Regions from separate parts of the Homo sapiens genome. Here region 1 is linked to region 2. Evidence: promoter capture Hi-C in 16 types of primary human blood cells and fetal thymus (Javierre and others, 2016). All regions are on one chromosome and are shown on one strand. The core of a region is centred on a gene start or on the middle of the fragment in contact, and the rest is flanking DNA. Distances in the headings are between cores, read along the strand shown.

Region 1 (4,437 bases), core at 1,546-4,045, 440 kb after region 2:
TGGATCATATGGTACTTCTATTTTTAATTTTTTTGAGAAATCTTCATACTGTTTTCCATAATGTCTGTAATAATTTACATTCTCACCAACAATGTCCAAGGGTTCCCTTTTCTCCACATCCTCACCAACACTTGTTATCTTTTGCTATTTTGATAATATACATCCTAATGCATGAGGTGATGTCTCATGGTTGTTTGAACTTGCTTTCCCTGATGTTTTGTGATGTCGAGCATTTTTTCTTGTAATTGGCCATTCGTATGTATTCTTTTGAGAAATGTCTAGTCAGGTCCTTTGCCCGTTTTCTTTGTTTGTTTTTCTGCTATTTAGTTTTTGAGTTTCTAACATATTTTGCATATTAATCCCTTATCAATTGTGTGGTTTGCAAATATTTTCTCCACTCCCTAGGTTGTCTCTTCCCTCTGTTGATGTTCCCTTTGCTGTGCAGAAGCTTTTTAGTTTGGTGCAATTCTATTTGCCTCTTTTTGCTTTGTTGGCTGTGCTTATAAGGTCATATCCAGAAAATCATTGTCTAGTCCAATATCAAGAAGCTATTTTGCCCATGTTTTCTTCTAGTACATTTATGATTTCAGGACTTACGTTTAAATCTTTAATCTGTCTTGAGTTGATTTGTGTGTATGTTGTAAAATAAGGATCCAGTTTCACTTATTTGCATGTGGATAGCCAGTTTTCCTAACACCATTTCCTGAAGGGACAGTCTTTCTCCATTGTGTATTCTTGATGCCTTTTTCAAAGATTAATTGACTGAATATTATATATGGGTTTATTTCTGTGCTTTCTGTTCCAATCCATGTATTGTTTTTTTATGCCAGTACCATGCAGTTTTGATCACTATAGCTATATAATATAATTTAAAATCAGGAAATATGCCTCCAGCTTTGTTCTTTTTCCTTAAAATTGCTTCATGGTCTTTGATGGTTCCATACAATTTTTAGGACTTTTTTTTCTATTTCTATTAAAAATGCCGTTGGAATTTTGATAGGAGTTACATTGAATCTGTAGATCATTTAAGGTAATATGAACATTTTGACAATATTGATTCTTGTGATCCATAAAAGGAAATATCTTTCCATGTATTTGCCTTGTCAGTTTTTTGCATCAATGCTTTATTGTTTCATTATACAGATCTTTTATCTCCTTGGTTAAATTTACTCCTAAGTATTTTATTCTTTTTTATGCTATTGTGAATAGAATATTTTTAAAATTTATTTTTTGAAAAAAATGTCTTTTTGGATAGTTCATTGTTTATGTATAGACATGCAACTGAATTTTGTTTGTTAATTTTGTACCTTATAACTTAACTAAATTTATCAGTTATAACCATTTTTTTGGTGGAGTCTAGGGTTTACTCTATTTGAGATAATGTCATCTGCAAACAAAAGTCTATGTATTCCTTTCTGATTTTGATGCCTTTTATTGCTTTTGCTTGCTTAATTGATTTGGGTAGGAATTTCAGTGTTATGTTGAATAGAACATAGCACTCTGTGAGAGTGGGCAGCCTTGTCTTTTCACTGATCTTGGAGGAAAAATGTTCAACATTTTACCATTCACTATACTATTAGTTGTAGGCTTTTCTTATGTGGTCTTTATTGTGTTGAGATACATTCCTCCTGTACCTAATTTTTTGAGTTTTTAATCATAAAATTATGTTGAGTTTTGTCAGATGCTTTTCATGCATCTATTGAGATGATCATACGACTTTTATCTTTCATTCTATTATTATGGTATATCACATTGATTAATTTGCATATAGTGAACCATTCTTGAATCTCAGGTATAAATCCCATCGACCATGGTCATGTTGAATTTGGTTTGCTAGTGTTTCATTGAGAATTTTCATGTCTATGTTTATCAGGGATATTGGCTTGTAATTTTCTTTTCTTGTATTCTTATCTGGCTTTAGTATGAGAGTAATGCTGGCCTTATAAAATGAGTGTGGAAGTGGTTCATTCTCATTAATTTTTTAAACAGTTTGGGAAAGATTGGTATTAGTTTTTCTTTAAATGTTTGATGGAATTCACACATAAAACCATCAGGTCCTGGGATTTTCTTTGTTGAAAGATTTTTTCTTACTACTTCAATCTCCTTCCTCATTATTGGCCTGCTCAGATTTTCTATTTCTTCTTCTTCTTTTATTTTTCTTTTTGAGATGGAGTCTCGCTCTGTCACACAGGCGGGAGTGCAATGGCACCATCTCAGCTCACTGCAACTTCTGCCTCCCAGGTTTAAGCGATTCTCCCACCTCAGCCTCCCGAGTAGCTGGGACTATAGGTGCATGCCACCACACCCAGCTAATTTATTTATTTATTTTTTGTATTTTTGATAGAGATGGGGTTTCACCATGTTGTTCAGGCTGGTCTTGAACTCCTGACCTCAAGTGATCTGCCCACCTCGGCCTCCCACAGTGCTGGGATTTCGGGTGTGAGCCACCATGCCCAGCCTTCTATTTCTTCTTGATTCAGTTTTGGTAGATTGTACGTGTCTGGAATTTATCCATTTCTTCTAGATTATCCAATTTGTTGATATACAATTGTTCATATATTCTCTTATGATCCCTTATATTTCTGTAGTATCAGTTGTAATATCTCTTATTTTATTTATTTGAATCTCCTCTCTTTTCTTTAGTCTAGCTAAAAGTTTGTAATTGTGTTTATCTTTTCAAAAACCAACTCTTAGTTTCATTGATTGTTTTCTCTTGTTTTCTAGTCTTGATTCCATTTATTTCTGCCCTGATCTTTGTTATTTCCTTCCTTCTCCTAAGTTTGGGCTTAGTCTTTCTCTTTTTGCTAGCTCCTTGAGGTATAAAATTAGGTTGCTTAAAATCTTTCTTTTTTTAAAAATGTAGGCATTTATTACTATAAACCATCCTCTTAGAACTTATTTTGTTGCATCTCCTAAGTTTTTGTAGGTAGTATTTCCATTTTCATTCATCTCAAGATATTTTTTGGTTTCCCTTTTATTTTTTGGCCCATTGATTGTTCAATGAATTGTTTAATTTCCACATATTTGAGAATTTTCAAATTTTCTTCATATTACTGATCTCTTGTTTTATGTTTTTTTGTGGTCAGAAAAGAGAAGACATGATTTCAACTTTCTTAAATATGATAAGAGGCCAGACAGCAATAGCTCATGCCTGTAATCACAGCATTTTAGGAGGCTGAGGTGGGAGGATTGCTTGAGGTAAGGAGTTCTAGACCAGCCTGGGCAACACAGTGAGACCCTGTCTCTACAAAAAAATTTTAAAACATTAGCTGGGCATTGTGGCACTCAGCTGTAATCCCAGCAGCTACTCAGGAGGCTGAGGTGGGAGGATTGCTTGAGCCCAGGAGTTCTAGGCTACAGTGAGTGCCACTGCACACTAGCCCAAGCAACAGTGAGTGCCACTGCACTCTAGCCCAGGCAACAGTGAGTGCCACTGCACTCTAGCCCAGGCAACAGTGAGTGCCACTGCACTCTAGCCCAGGCAACAGATGCGACCCTCTCTCTAAAAATAAATAAATAAATAAATAAATAAATAAATAAATAAATAAATAAAAATTAAATATGTTAAGACTTGTTTTGTGGTCTAATATATTAATATATTATCTATCCTGGAGAATTGTCTGTGTGCACTTGAAAATAATGTGTATTCTGCTGTTGCTGGATGGAATATTCTATATACATCTGTTACATTGTTTAGGTTTATAGTGTTCTTCAAATGTATTGTTTCCTTGTTGAGTTTCTGTCAGGATGATCTATCCATTGTCAAACGTGAAGTACTGAAATCTGCTACTATTAATCATATTGCTGTTTATTTCCTTCGATTCTGTTAGCATTCATTTTATATATTTAGGTGCTCCGATGTTGGGTAAATATATACTTACATTATTATGTGCTCTTGATGAATTGATCCTTTTGTCATTATATAATGATCTTCTTTGTCTCTTTTGACAGTGTTTGACTTAAAATCTACATTGTGCGATATAAGGATAGCCATCCTTGTTCTCCTTTGGTTACCATTTACATGGAATTTCTTAATCCATAACTTTACTTTCAGACTATGTGCTTCCTTAAAGCTAAAGTGAATCTCTTGTAGGCAGCATATAGTTTGATCTTATACTTTTTAATCCATTTGGCCACTCTTTGTCTTTTGATTAAAGAATTTAGTCTATTTACTTTTAAGATAATTATTGGTAGGCAAGGACCCAGTACTGACAAACTGTTGTTTTCTATTTTGGAGTTACTTTATTCCGTTCTTCCTCTCTTGCCATCCTCTTGTGATCTGATGATTTTTTTTGTGGTGGTATGTTTTAATTCCTTTATCTTTATGTATCTACTTACAGATTTTTTCTTTGTGGTAACATGAGGCTTACATGAAACCTCTTATAGTTATAATAGTCTGCTTTAAGCTGGTAACAATTTAACTTTGACTGCAAACAA
Region 2 (5,013 bases), core at 886-3,385:
ACCACACTTGGTTATTTTGCAATGCCAGAATAACGGTGGGTATTCACAAATTGAATAGATAATCCAGATTATGTTTCCTCCAATTTAAGTTTTTCTGGGTTTTTTTTTCCCCCTTCCTAGAATCAATTTTATCATTTTACCTATGTACAATAATATACTTCTGGAAAATGCTAGAATTTTCACCATGTAACAGAATTTGAGCATGACAGTAATGTAAAAATATTCAGAAGTCTCGAACTATAGGTTTGAGTTTTCAAAGTAAATCAAAATACAGCTGTTTTCATTTTACTAGATTGTGGAAACCTATGGATGTTATTGTAAAATGCATATGCATTACACTGACTTTCTTAAAATGTTTTGAATTAATAAAGAATTCAACAATGTATCCTTAGAAAGTTACTGTTTCCTCATTGGTATATAACACTATAGGAATAAAAGGTACACTTCTATGTGTTACTTAAATTGCTTATGCACTTGGGGGAAAATAAAATTCTGGCTAGATTCTTTACATTGTTCTATAAGGTTTTAATTATTAAAATGTTTCACCTTTTATAAATAATAAAATATATTGTTGAAATGACTTATGTTCTGAGAACTCAACTGAGAGATATACCATGTTGAGTTCAAGTGATTCTCACCATTTCCATGGTTAAGATAAATTCAAAGTTAAGTTCAGACTTGGGAAACAATTGTTCTAATAGAGATAAAAACATCCTGATCAGTCCTGTTCTATCCTCAGATCAGGATTAAAATAAAATGGGTTTCAACAGCAGAACGATTGTATAAAGTTGTGTAGCTTGAATACACAAAGTGAAAAGAACTGAGATAATTAGGTGGAGCCTTTAAGTAGCAAAAAACTATTTTTGCTTCCTGATGTTTGAAGAGTCATTTCATTCTTCCACTCACTCTGCATTTGTTATCGTGCTAAGAGATGAAAAGAGAGAGGCAATGCAAACGTTATTTTCTAAGAATGTTTATACTTAACAGTTTCGATTAGATGACCTAAGGATATTTTAACCTTGATAAGGGTTCCCATTTTTTACCATTTTATTTTTTATGAATAAATTAGAAGTTTCGTACTTCTAATATATCACCTCTCTCAACAGTGAAATACCACTTAGTAGACGCTGCCCAAACCAGTTAGGTAGTGGCAGTTCTCAGATTGAGCGTTTAGCCCTTGCATTCCCAGGACTGTCTTGGTTGTGTTTATTCCCTCATATTTATTTCTCCGTTGAGCTGTGAACAGGTCTTTTGAAAAGTGCAAAGCATTGTGCCAATAAATGTCGGTATTGCTGGCACCTATCCGCTACCAGTTCTTTGGAAAGGGATGAGGGTTGGACTCCTGGAGGCAGATATCTGAAGGCTTTGTTGGGCTGTAGGTTGCTGTAACACGGAATCACTCCACCTCTTTAAAAAGCTGACGATAAGTGGGACTAAGTGAAAATGAATGGGCAGGTGAATAATAAAGTCCTTTGAAAGCAAGTAAATGACGCGGCAGATGAAGGGCACGCACGTCTATTGTGCAAATTCATTCAGTGGTTATCTCATAATACACTTATCAAGTCCTTATTACCACGAACCTCACCCACCGTGGACAAGAGAAACATAAGCAGGAAAAAAGGAGGAGGAATAAACACACGCCTGTCCATAATAAAACTCGCTCTTGAAGACTCAGCGGCAGCCCTGCACCGGAGACTGACGACTTGCGCGGCTGTGACCTCCGCCCTGCAGCGGACCCTCGACTGCCCTGCACTGCGGCTCTGGAGGCCCCGACTCAGTGCATGGGAAAGAAATCCTCACTATCAGAAAACAGAGGGGCAATCTGCTGCTCTCCCTTTCCGGCCAAACACGTCACCCATCAACCGGATACCTACCAAGAGGCTTTCAGAGGAGGCGCCCAAGGTCTCCCAGGCCCGCCCCTCCCCAATCACGCTCCGCTCAGCCCCCTCAACTTTTGGCCTCCGGGAAGTTCGCAGCGTTCTCACGCTTGGCAGGAAGTTCCCGCCAAGGCTTCCGGAAAATCCTTTAAAAAGCAACGCTTGCGCTGGGCGGGGCTTGGTGCGCTCTCACCCTTATCTCCAAATTCTGGGTGTTGTCGCGAGGGCTGCTGTGTCCGGAACTTCCGGTTCCGGTCAGGGTCCGCGATCTCGGACTAAGGATGCGGTCCCGGGTTCTGTGGGGCGCTGCCCGGTGGCTCTGGCCCCGCCGGGCCGTTGGCCCAGCCCGCCGGCCCCTGAGCTCCGGTAGCCCGCCGCTGGAGGAGCTGTTCACCCGGGGCGGGCCCTTGCGGACCTTCCTCGAGCGCCAGGCGGGGTCTGAAGCCCATTTGAAGGTCAGGAGGCCCGAGTTGCTGGCGGTGATCAAACTGCTGAACGAGAAGGAGCGGGAGCTGCGGGAGACTGAGCACTTGCTGCACGGTAAGGGTCGGGCCCGGGGGAGAGGCGTCAGAGCACATTCTTGACTCTTCGTTTGACTTTTCCACTGCCCACACTACCCGAGTTTGAAACTCTTTACTCACTTGCAGCCGTTTTTATTTTGGATCAGAGGTCAGGACATCATTACGTGCTGTGATCCCATCCTCTCCTGTGGGCTCTCTTGTGCTCCTTTGCCACGGCGCTCTGCCGCCTTTTACATGCTTATTAGTTGTGGACTCGGGCAAGAGCTCATTAGCTCAGCAAGGATAAATAAGGCACTGTCCCTGTGATGGGCTCCACAGCGGTGTTTCTCAAAGTGTGGTGTGGAGACCCATTTGCAGTAGTATCAGGGCAGTGCTTGTTAATAGCAGACTTAGGACTCAGAATCTCAGACCTATACGTGGGTAAAGGTACTAAATTGGGAAATTCAGTATGGCCTAAGTATAGAATAGGTGGGAGATGATGTCATAGAAACATGAAGCCAGAAAAATAGTTAAGAACCTTGCAAGACAAAGAATTTGGATTTATTTTTTATAGACCATGGAAAGTTAGCAAATGTTTTTAAGCAGAGAATTCACGTCTTTGTAAAGAAAAGTTAATGGTGGCATGCGCTGAGGATAAATTGGAGTATTCTCCAGAAACGCTGGTGGCTGACAGGCCAGGGAGGAGGCAGTTGAAACAATCCAAAGAAGAAATGGTGATAGGCATAGTTCTGACTCACAAAACATTTTGAGAAACAAGTTAGGATTTAGTGGCTTATGCCCTGAGAAGGATGAGGGAGAGAGTTAGTTCTAAGAAAAGTCTTAGGTTTCTGGCTTCAGCACGAGTGGTACTGTTAATTAAGATGAAAGTATAAAAGTTGGACCGAATTTTTTAAAAAGATGAGTTTTGCATTGAATGCCATATTAAGTTAAAAATACCTGTGAAAAGGAATTCCAATAAAGATATCTGTACTAGTCTAGGAGAAAAAATTACTGACATAGGAGAAAAATTGAGCCCAAATAATCATATGAGAGCTCTCGAGATATACAGTACGTGGTAAATTAAACCTTAGAAGTAGATGAGAACACTCAGGGAAAATGTGTTAAGATAGAAACAAGTCTAACAAGGCCAGAAATACACAGTATTTGAGGAGCAGGCAGAGAAGAAGGCTATAAAAGGTCAAGAAAAAAACAGCCAGAGCTTTGTGACCCTGAAGTAGATAAATAAATGAAGCTGTAGAAGCCAATAGAAAATTTCAAGAAGTAAGAGATCCTTGGCCAGGCGTGGTGGCTCACGCCTCTAATTCCAGCACTTTGAGAGGCTCAGGTGGGCCGATCACTTGAGCCCAGGAGTTCGAGACCAGCCTGGGTAACATGGCAAAACCCTGTCTCTACAAACAATGCAAAATTAGCTGGGCATGGTGGTGCGTGCCTGTGGTCCCAGCTACTTGAGAGGCTGAGGTGGGAGAATCGCTTGAACCCGGGAGGTGGAGGTTGCAGTGAGCCAAGATGGTGCCACTGCATTCCAGCCTGGGTGACAGCGCAAGACCCTGCCTCAAAAAAAAAAAAAAAAAAAAAAAATCCGTAGTACCTGACATAGAAAGGTAAAACAACCTTTTCAGCTCACACTGAAATAAGTCTTTAGATTTGGCAATTTTGTCATTGGTAACTTGAATAAAAATGGTCTTGATATGATTATAGAATCCAGTGTAACAGCTTGAGAGGTAAATTAGAGTTAACAGGAGAAAAGTTATAAAAATGGCATTTTATCTCCAGAAATCTGGGTGGGAAAAGAGGGGTGACAATAAGCAGCTACTTAAAGGGTTGAAAAGAAAAGGACCCATTTAGAATGGGAAACCATAAACATCTTTATAGGCAAAGGGGAAGGCAGGCACATGGTAGGTGTCCAGTAAACATATGTTGATTTATAATATTCAAGAGAAATTAAAGAAGTAGTATATTACCATTGCCTGTGAGTAACTCCTAATTCTAAACCCTTTAGAGCTGCACTGTCCAATATAGTAGCCAGTAGCCACACAGCTGTTGAGCAATTTGTGGCTAGTCTGAATTGAGGTGTGTAAGTGTAAAATACATATAGATTTCAAACACCTGGTATAAAAAGTAATATGTTTATGTTAATTACATGTTGAAATAATATTTGGAGCATATTGGGTTAAATAAAATATAGTATTAAAATTAAATTACTTCTAGACTCTAGTTCCAATCTCCTTAGCTTTGCAGAACTGAAAGGCACCTTAGAGATTATCCAGCTCAGAACTTTCATTTCATTCTTGTCATAACTGAAAGAAGTTGAGCCTATTGCCCTAACAGTACCTTAGCGATTAAGCTAGGGCTAGAATTCATTTTTGCTTTTCCTAACACATTTTCCATTCTACCAAATTTCTTCCATACCATATGCTTGCCAAAATAATTTTCAGCAGTGCTTCCTGTACTTGCTTATCTCAGTTTTGCTGTTGTTATTCTCTCTCCTTGAGTTAATCTTTTTTTCCTTTTTCTGCCCATTCCAAAACCAACAGATTCCTTCAAGGCACAACTGTTTTAATATTTAATCACATAGTGTATTAGTCTGTTTTCACACTGCTGATAAAGACATACCC

The links. The method cuts DNA at HindIII sites, captures the fragments that hold promoters and counts their contacts. A CHiCAGO score of 5 or more calls a contact.
Region 1: a fragment that was not itself captured here is called in contact with the fragment with the promoter of MTRF1L in region 2 in 1 of 17 cell types (neutrophils); the score reaches 5.5 in neutrophils.

Annotation. Positions count from the first base shown.
Region 1 is chr6:152,558,093-152,562,529 of GRCh38, reverse strand. All of the region lies in intron 3 of SYNE1 (spectrin repeat containing nuclear envelope protein 1), which reads left to right. Among named protein-coding and RNA genes, the nearest start is that of SYNE1, 77 kb to the left of the region's middle. The HindIII fragment of the contact is 4,689 bases long and covers 451-4,437 here.
Region 2 is chr6:152,999,831-153,004,843 of GRCh38, reverse strand. It overlaps MTRF1L (mitochondrial translation release factor 1 like), which reads left to right and starts at 2,135. Exons shown (of 7, transcript NM_019041.7): 1 at 2,135-2,417. The coding sequence starts at 2,159. RGS17 (regulator of G protein signaling 17) reads left to right here. Exons shown (of 5, transcript NM_012419.5): 5 at 1-385. RefSeq lists enhancers at 1,778-1,887, 978-1,978 and silencers at 2,208-2,317, 2,328-2,387. The HindIII fragment of the contact is 13,608 bases long and covers 1-5,013 here.